Regions from separate parts of the Homo sapiens genome. Here regions 1 and 3 are each linked to region 2. The links are contacts of gene promoters, found by promoter capture Hi-C in blood cells and fetal thymus (Javierre and others, 2016). All regions are on one chromosome and are shown on one strand. Each heading gives the region's core, a stretch centred on a gene start or on the middle of the fragment in contact. The rest is flanking DNA. Distances are from core to core; before and after follow the strand shown.

The links. Contacts are between HindIII fragments. The CHiCAGO score rates a contact against its expected background, and 5 or more counts as called.
Region 1: a contact is called between the fragment with the promoter of RPL27A here and the fragment with the promoter of TTC17 in region 2, in 1 of 17 cell types (non-activated CD4 T cells). The highest score is 5.7, in non-activated CD4 T cells.
Region 3: a fragment that was not itself captured here is called in contact with the fragment with the promoter of TTC17 in region 2 in 1 of 17 cell types (activated CD4 T cells); the score reaches 12.4 in activated CD4 T cells.

Annotation. Positions count from the first base shown.
Region 1 is chr11:8,681,342-8,684,041 of GRCh38, reverse strand. It overlaps RPL27A (ribosomal protein L27a), which reads right to left and starts at 1,250. Exons shown (of 5, transcript NM_000990.5): 1 at 1,226-1,250; 2 at 777-840; 3 at 1-36. The coding sequence starts at 1,228. TRIM66 (tripartite motif containing 66) reads left to right here and starts at 1,377. Exons shown (of 25, transcript NM_001388022.1): 1 at 1,377-1,441. RefSeq lists enhancers at 329-971, 1,298-1,487, 1,688-1,757, 621-1,820 and a silencer at 978-1,177. The HindIII fragment of the contact is 2,972 bases long and covers 857-2,700 here.
Region 2 is chr11:43,357,609-43,360,308 of GRCh38, reverse strand. TTC17 (tetratricopeptide repeat domain 17) reads right to left here and starts at 1,389. Exons shown (of 24, transcript NM_018259.6): 1 at 1,196-1,389. The coding sequence starts at 1,354. RefSeq lists a silencer at 1,051-1,130 and an enhancer at 1,261-1,530. The HindIII fragment of the contact is 2,829 bases long and covers 1-1,808 here.
Region 3 is chr11:93,736,775-93,739,474 of GRCh38, reverse strand. TAF1D (TATA-box binding protein associated factor, RNA polymerase I subunit D) reads left to right here. Exons shown (of 6, transcript NM_024116.4): 2 at 144-238; 3 at 976-1,366; 4 at 2,236-2,411. The coding sequence starts at 171. Among named protein-coding and RNA genes, the nearest start is that of SNORA40, 2.9 kb to the right of the region's middle. RefSeq lists an enhancer at 358-1,557. The HindIII fragment of the contact is 2,451 bases long and covers 113-2,563 here.

The DNA of each region.
Region 1 (2,700 bases), core at 1-2,500, about 35 Mb after region 2:
CATTACCGCGGCCGCCGGGGTGCTTCCGGTGCTTGCCTGCAGGAATACAAAGCTACGTGGGGCCGGTGTGATGGCTCATGCCTGTAATCCCAGCATTTTAGGAGGACGAGGGGGGGTAGATCACCTGAGGTCAGGAGTTCGAGACCAGCCTGGCCAACACGGAGAAACCCCCGACTCTACTAAAAATAGAAAAAGAATTAGCCGGGCGTCGTGGCGCACACCTGTAATATCAGCTACTCGGGAGGCTGAGGCAGGAGAATCGCTTGAGCCCGGCAGGCAGGGGTTGCAGTGAGCCGAGATTTCGCCACTGCACTCCAGCCTGGGCGACAGTGATCAGTCTCACACACACACAAAAAAGCTACATGCACCACACAGCCTTCTCATGCATCTCAATACTTCCTCGCACAAAAGCAGAGTGTTTCCCAGACTTCTGTGTCCCGCTTACGCTGTTCCCACCCTACCGATGCCGGTTTTCAGCAATGCGATTACTTTAGGATTCCGGGTGAAACATCTTTTCAGGTTCCACATCACAGCATTCCCACAGTACTCCATGTCTTCAACTAACCCAATACCGTGCCTGCTCAATTCCTATTACCCCACTGATGTGAAATTCCTTAGAACTGGAATACTAGAGGATCGTCAGAAAAAAATCAACAGCTGTGCAACTTGACCACAAAAAGGTCTTATTCTAACCCACTTATAGGCTACCGATCTCCAGACTAGCTAAGCACCCGAAGAGAGCCCAAGGCCCACCCCGAGGGGAAGCCGGCACTTACCTATGCGGCCGTGGCCGTGGCTCACGTGGCCCCTAAGTTTCCGGGTCTTCCTCAGTCTGGATGGCTGTGTGGAAAAAGCTTGGTGGTAAGGCCTAAGGAATTAGGGGCAGGGGGCGATGCCCGCCAGCCGAGATGGTCCTGTAAGCCTGTGGGTCAAAGACCTAACTTCTGGAGCGTTTGGGAAAGCTGAGGGTACCGATCCGCTCAGGGCCGTGAGGTCTCACCACGGTAGCGCAGGGGCCCGCGTGTCCTAGAGATCCGAACCGCGGGCCTAACACACGGCTCCGGGAGCCCCGCCCCGGGCCCGCGCCGGCCACCCTGCCCCGCAGGCGGCCATGCGCAGCCTGGAAGCCCCGACCATGGTAGGGAGTGGATGACTAGGGGCAATGGGAATACAGCTTAGGGGTCTCCGCCGGCAAGGAAGAGGAGGCAAGAAACGAAACACCTACCATGTTGGCAGCCCAGACGAAAAAGGAAGGCCTTCGCCAAGTCTCGCGAGGTATCGGCCACGGGGGCGGGGCAAAACGCCTCACTTCCGGTCACAGAGGCCGGGCTTCGGGCGGGGCCTCCTGGTCTCGCGGGATTGCGCGCCTGCTAGTCGCTTCCTCTTTCTGAGGGTGGTGATCCCCCATCACGGAGTGTCCTGGTGGCGGTGTACGGTTTCGGTGAGGCTCGTTGTGCTAGGCTCGGAGGGCGAGAACTGTTGAAGAATCGGGGCTAGGTGTGCTGTACTGCACGCCGCCCGTGCTTGCTTGAGCCAGGCCCTTTTCTGGCGCCTTGGTCAGGGAACCGCCTAAGCCGACCCTAAGGGCCTCGTTGTCTGAGCTCCTCACCAAATGCGCCAGCCCTGAGCCGCCCCGCGCACCTCCACAGTTCTTAGTGGTCTGCCCGGGGCTGGTGATAGTGGCTACTGGTTTGTCTCCCGGCCGCAGTGCGGAACCGCGAGGCCCTCTTTAATCCTCAGTGTGCCCACCTGGTGTCTCGCTCGGTTTCCTGAAGCTCGGGCGGCTCCCGAAATGCCTTCTCCCGCTCTCACACTTCTGAGTGGGCACTGCAGCTTCCTTTCTCTTTTGCCCTTTTGCTATCATTTGGTTGTCCTCTCAAGTTTGAGCAACTTAAATTGCTTCAGGGACTTAGATGCCTGGTTGCTTTATGGTCCTTTTAATGCAGATGTTGTAAATACTTTTTCTAAATGCCACATTTAGGCCAGGCGCGGTGGCTCACACCTGTAGTCCCAACACTTTGGGAGGTCGAGGCGGGAGGATTTCTTGAGGCGAGTAGTTCAACACCAGCCTGGGCAACATAGTGAGACCCTCGTCTCCACATACAAAAGTAAATAAGTAAAAATAAATGCTATTTTTGAATTTTCTCCAGAATCTACATAACACGCCTGTGACCCTTTCCTGGACACAATGCAGACAGTTGCTCGCTTCCCCACCTGTACCACCACACAATCTAGTATAACCCTTATGTAATTTATTGACCTACGTTTGTCTTCCCTACTAGACCTAATTCCTTATGTGGTCAAGGACTGTTTTTTTTAATCCACACTCAACTAGTGATTGTTGAGTGAATAAATGAACTTACCCTCACCTCCCTGTCTTCGCTAATAGCAGCATGTCTTCGCTCTTAAGTCGGTTCCTTCAACCAGTGTTCAAGATCCCATCCCCTCGCTAGTCTATTAATAGATCCCATGGGAAAAATGAAATAAATTTTTAAAATCCCATCCCCTCAGTTATTCTCTGTGTGTATGTGTGAGCGTGTATTTATTTATTTTTCTTTGTCTTGCCCCCTTCAGCTAAAATATATTTTAGCTAAAATATCCAAAATTCTGGCCGGGCGTGGTGGCTTACTTCTGTAATCCCAGCACTTTGGAAGGCCGAGGCGGGCGGATCACGAGGTCAGGAGATCGAGACCATCCTGG
Region 2 (2,700 bases), core at 140-2,639:
GAAAACGTTACCCAATAGGAACACGGTCTTTTCTTAGATATGCTGAAAACCACTCATGAATACCTAGGCGGATTTTTAGTTATACTTAACTTACTTGAGATAGAATTTGCAATTACATTACACGGCAAATCTAAATCTAAACCTCACCTTAAACGTTGGAATGTGTTCCTATCATGATTCATTACACACAATCCAAAGGACCAGTAATTTCCCACCACACTAGTTAAAACGTTTTAGATCAGTGGGCTAAATTGCATGGGGCACACAATTCACTTTCTAAATGTTTGCTAGACACTTCAAGATTGTCCTCAAGTGTTCGAAGTCAGTAAGTTTACCAATATTCTGTAGCGGAACACACACACGCACTCGTTAGGCATCAGCAGCATTTACAAAACGCAGGCAATCATAAAGTTATATAAGAAAAGCAGTCTCGCCTCTGAGGAATTAGTTCAGGCATACAAGAATCCAGGAAATCGCATATCCTCCATGCGAGGCTGGGTCACAAGAACTAGGTAAAGAAACAAAGCAAAGTGCACTGGGAAACGAGGGCAGTAACAGCTGAAAAGATGCAGGCAACGCCACCAGCGGCATCTTCAAGCATTCCTTCTGAAGGGGAGTGTTTCTATGTTGTTTCTAATGAGCCACTGCTGACCTGAGTAACGGTACAAGCTGAAACCAACACAACCAGAAACGAAATCCACCATGTGGTAGACGAGACTAGGGGAGCAGCACGAATGGTCCACAGGCTAGGGGTCCAGAAGCTGTCATACCATGGGACTCGCGCACACCCTGGAGCTGCCACCTGCTTTCTATTTCCTCGGGGAGGGCCGGTGACGCGTGAACCCGAGAGGCACCAAAGGCAGGAATCCTGAAATCTGTGATTTCTAAACCCCGAGCTAAAAAAAGGTCCGTAGGGCCCGTCTCCCGCAGCTGGGCGACTCTTCCCCACGCGGCGCGCGGCCCGCGAGGTGGAAGGGTGAGAACTTCTAGGGGGCCAAACGAGGACCAGGAGACAAGTGGGGAGCGGGAAGTGCCTGCCTGGTCCGAATGCAGGGAGTCCGAGGTCGCGGTGCCACCTCCCTGTGAGGGTAGGCTGGGGGCGGGGCCGCGCGGAGCCCAACAGCCAGGGGCCAAGCAGGGTAATCCCCCCGGGGCGAGGGCGGGCACGGGAGAAGAGGGACGCCCCGGCCGCTACCTGCTGCTGGATTTTCCCGTCCTCCGTGACGACCCAGTGCGTGGTGGCGAAGGCCCCTCGTGCCGCCACACTCAGCAAGGCGGAAAGGCTGAGGAGCCAGCCTGGGCCGGAGCAAGGCGGCAGCTCGTACCGGCCACGAACCCCTACTGCCGCCGCCATCTTGCCCCCCCGGCCGGGCCGCTCACACCGGAAGCGGAAGCTAGTCTCCGGCGCCCGCCATCTTGAAGAGGTCGGCCCTGGAGGAGGAGCAGGAGGAGGAGCCGAGAGGGCGTAGCTCGCTGACTACCAAGTTTCCTCCACCTCGGTTTTGGCGGCCAGGAAGCGCGACCTTCGGCTACTCTCCCAGCTTGGCTTCAGGGATGGAGACCGCTTTTTAGTTATTGTTTTTCTGTGGGTGATACGATCTCGGAGCGTGGGAACCGGAGGGAGACAAAAGCAGTGGCTTAGGTGGCGCTTAAGCAGAAGTGAAAGGACTCAATTTTATTGTTTTTTAAATCTTTGTTTTTTCGTTTTATTTCTGGTAGATAGTTGGGGAACAAAAGGTGTGCTTTCGAACCACCTATGGGAAGAGAGGTGTTGCTTTTATTCTTAAAGTCTCACAATAGTGGAAGCTTCAGAATGGAGACGGTTGTTAGTTTAGGGCACCGCTGTCCAGTAGCACTATAATGCGAGCCACGTGTGGAATGTAAAATATAGAGGGAAGTAACCCTACTAGTACATTTTATTTAACTCAAAGTACACAAAATATTAATTCAATGTGGTCTGTACAAATCATTGAGATAGTTTAGTTTTTTTTTTTTTAACTAAGTCTTGGAAATCGGCATGTTACACTGACAGCTTATCTAGTCATATTTCAGGGGCTTAATACCCGCATGTGGCTAACGTACTGGTCAGCACAGGTCTAAGCTAGAGGTCTAGGTCTGGAGACCAGAAACATTGGCATCACCTGGGAGCTTTTTAGACCTGCACATTCTCGGCTCTTCTCCCTCTCCCCCGCAACCTGCTGAATCAGACTACATTTTAACAATAGCCTCAGGTGACTGGTATACATATTAAAGTTTGAGAACCACTTTCTTCTAGTGAACCAACAGGCAGGCAGGCAGGCGTCAAGCTTGGCTGCCAGCTTCTTGCTAGATATGTCATTTTAGGTCTTTCAAGATTGCCCTCTGTGTGTGTTATTTAAGGTTGGTATGCTTTTGGTTTTCTCCTTGGGAAAAGAAGGATGAGAATATTGTTTAACCACTTCTCTACACAAGTGTATGCAGGAGAGCAGTTGCTAAGTGTTTAAACACCACGCTATAGAAATGTAGAAACAACCACAGCATTGGTGTTTTTTTTTTCTTCATTCCAGGAACAGCTTTTCTTAAAGGCCTGAAGACTGAACATTCATTTCATTAAAAATATATGGCTTATTTGCTTTTTGCCTGGTACTCTGATAGTCTCTGGGTATGGAAATGTAACCATTGGGCAGTGTGCAATATAGTGAGATATTATTGGCAGGTTAA
Region 3 (2,700 bases), core at 89-2,588, about 50 Mb before region 2:
GATCTGAAATGGATAAGAAGCTTAACCTTGGTAAATGATTTCGCCTGAAATCATTGGCATAGTCTGACCACGTTCAACACTGTAGTAGATACTGTCAATATTTAGGGAAGCTTTGTCATATTTACTAAATTTCATAATTTCAGAAAACTGTTTAAAACAAAGAGCAATTGATGGATAAATCAGGAATAGATTCTCTTGACCATGTGACATCTGATGCTGTGGAACTTGCAAATCGAAGGTGAGTGGATTCAATCATGTTTATTGTATCTGAATTATGAGAAACTATTGTATATAATGAGTGACAGTAAAGATAATTTTCAGGAATTGGGAAAGAAGGAAAACTAGATTTCACTGACCTTCCAAGTTTATCTAGTTACATAGATTGATATAATAGCATTGCAAATACTTTAAATTCAAAATGTGAATATATTATGGGACACATTCGTCGAGAAAAAATGTATTCTTTGGGTCATATTAGCATCTCTTCCAGACTACATCCTCCGGTTCGGTAGGCTGTGTTTGTTTTACTCAGACACTCTTAGCAGTGAACCGAACCATACAGCCTTTTGGAGCTCATACATTGTCTTGAAAGATACAGTTTTTTTGTAAGCTGAGCATAGTGGTGCATGCCATTAGTCCTAGCTAGCTACTTGGGAGGCTGAGGCAGGAGCATCCCTGGAGTTTCCAGGAGTTTGAGGTTGCAGTGAGCTGTGATTGCACCACTGCACTCCAGTCTGGGTGACAGCAAGACGATGTCTACAAAACTCTTTAATAAGAGCTGTAGCATTATGGGCTATTTAAATAGGATGATCAGTAGAAAGGCTAGCTGGTTCTGAGCCCATCCTTTAAAAAATTTTTAATTCTGGGCATGTTTTCTGAGTTGGTCTTGGAAGAAATGTACATTTAGGACTGGGTATTAATGGTAATAAGCAGTAAGAAAAGAAGATGAAATTAATTTTTTTCCCATTTTTCTAGTGATAACTCTTCTGATAGCAGCTTATTTAAAACTCAGTGTATCCCTTACTCACCTAAAGGGGAGAAAAGAAACCCCATTCGAAAATTTGTTCGTACACCTGAAAGTGTTCACGCAAGTGATTCATCAAGTGACTCATCTTTTGAACCAATACCATTGACTATAAAAGCTATTTTTGAAAGATTCAAGAACAGGAAAAAGAGATATAAAAAAAAGAAAAAGAGGAGGTACCAGCCAACAGGAAGACCACGGGGAAGACCAGAAGGAAGGAGAAATCCTATATACTCACTAATAGATAAGAAGAAACAATTTAGAAGCAGAGGATCTGGCTTCCCATTTTTAGAATCAGAGAATGAAAAAAACGCACCTTGGAGAAAAATTTTAACGTTTGAGGTGAGTCAGCATTTTACATACATGGCTACACATAACTCAAGATGCCCAAAATGATTTGTTGGCCAATTTAGAATTGTCTCAGATATACTGGGAACAGACTGTCTGCAATTTTGATACTCTTCTATACTGACTTACCCCTAAAGTCCACCCTATCCTTCAACTGAATCTTGACTTGTATCTCTTAATATAACTACACTTTGCCATATTTAAAAGATAGTGCTCCAAGGCTCTTTGTATAAAATCCTTTGATCTTATCCCATCTCAGGTCTTTAAACACAACCCTAAAACTCAGTGGGGATAATAAAAGCTCACATAACTTGAAATTACTTTTGCAGTAACCTAAACTAAAACCACACATGCCTTATGTTCAGTGGATATATTCTTAAGGCCTAGATGTTTCTAAGCCAATTATCTGAAAAATACGCTAATACTTAGGAGTAGACTTTTTTAAATATTTGAGAGTTGTATGTTGAATGAATTCAGAATTAATTTATGATCCCTTGCCAGAACCTGAAATTTTATTTGGGAGGATTAATACATGTTAATCTCTTCAGTTAATCTCTTAAGTTTAAGGTGATTATAGTAAACATTAGAAATCTTATTCCTGTTTTTACATTTTAAAATGCCTTTAGTAAGTCCCAGACATGACAAGATATGTACTTCACTTTTCCATGTTACCAGCTTAGGTAAATTCATAATTGTAATGTGAATTTTAATAATCAGCATTTGATAAGTCCACAAGTGGGGAGTAGTTAAGATAGCAAATTCAGAGTCTTTGCTAAGGGGGGGCATTGCCCTTTTTGAACATAGGCACCTGCTGGGTCTTAAAAATAAAATCTCGACATACTTATGGTGTTTTTAATATATAGCAAGCTGTTGCAAGAGGATTTTTTAACTATATTGAAAAACTGAAGTATGAACACCACCTGAAAGAATCATTGAAGCAAATGAATGTTGGTGAAGATTTAGAAAATGAAGATTTTGACAGTCGTAGATACAAATTTTTGGATGATGATGGATCCATTTCTCCTATTGAGGAGTCAACGTAAGTGGAATCATATGAAATACTTTGGTAATAGGTTATAAATTAAATTTCTATGTTAATTGCTTCATATTTTGCCTTTAATATAGTTATACTTAAATAATGAACAAAGATACAGAGTATGACAATTGGGATTATTACAGTTGAGCCAAGCTTGGCACACCGTTCATCTAGAATTCTCCAGAACACAAAATTCTCAAATTTTGTGTTTCCTTTGACTAGTATTGCAGTTTCAGTTATATTTCAGAGTGGAATATACAACTAATTAGGTCATCGAAGATTCTGTCATCTC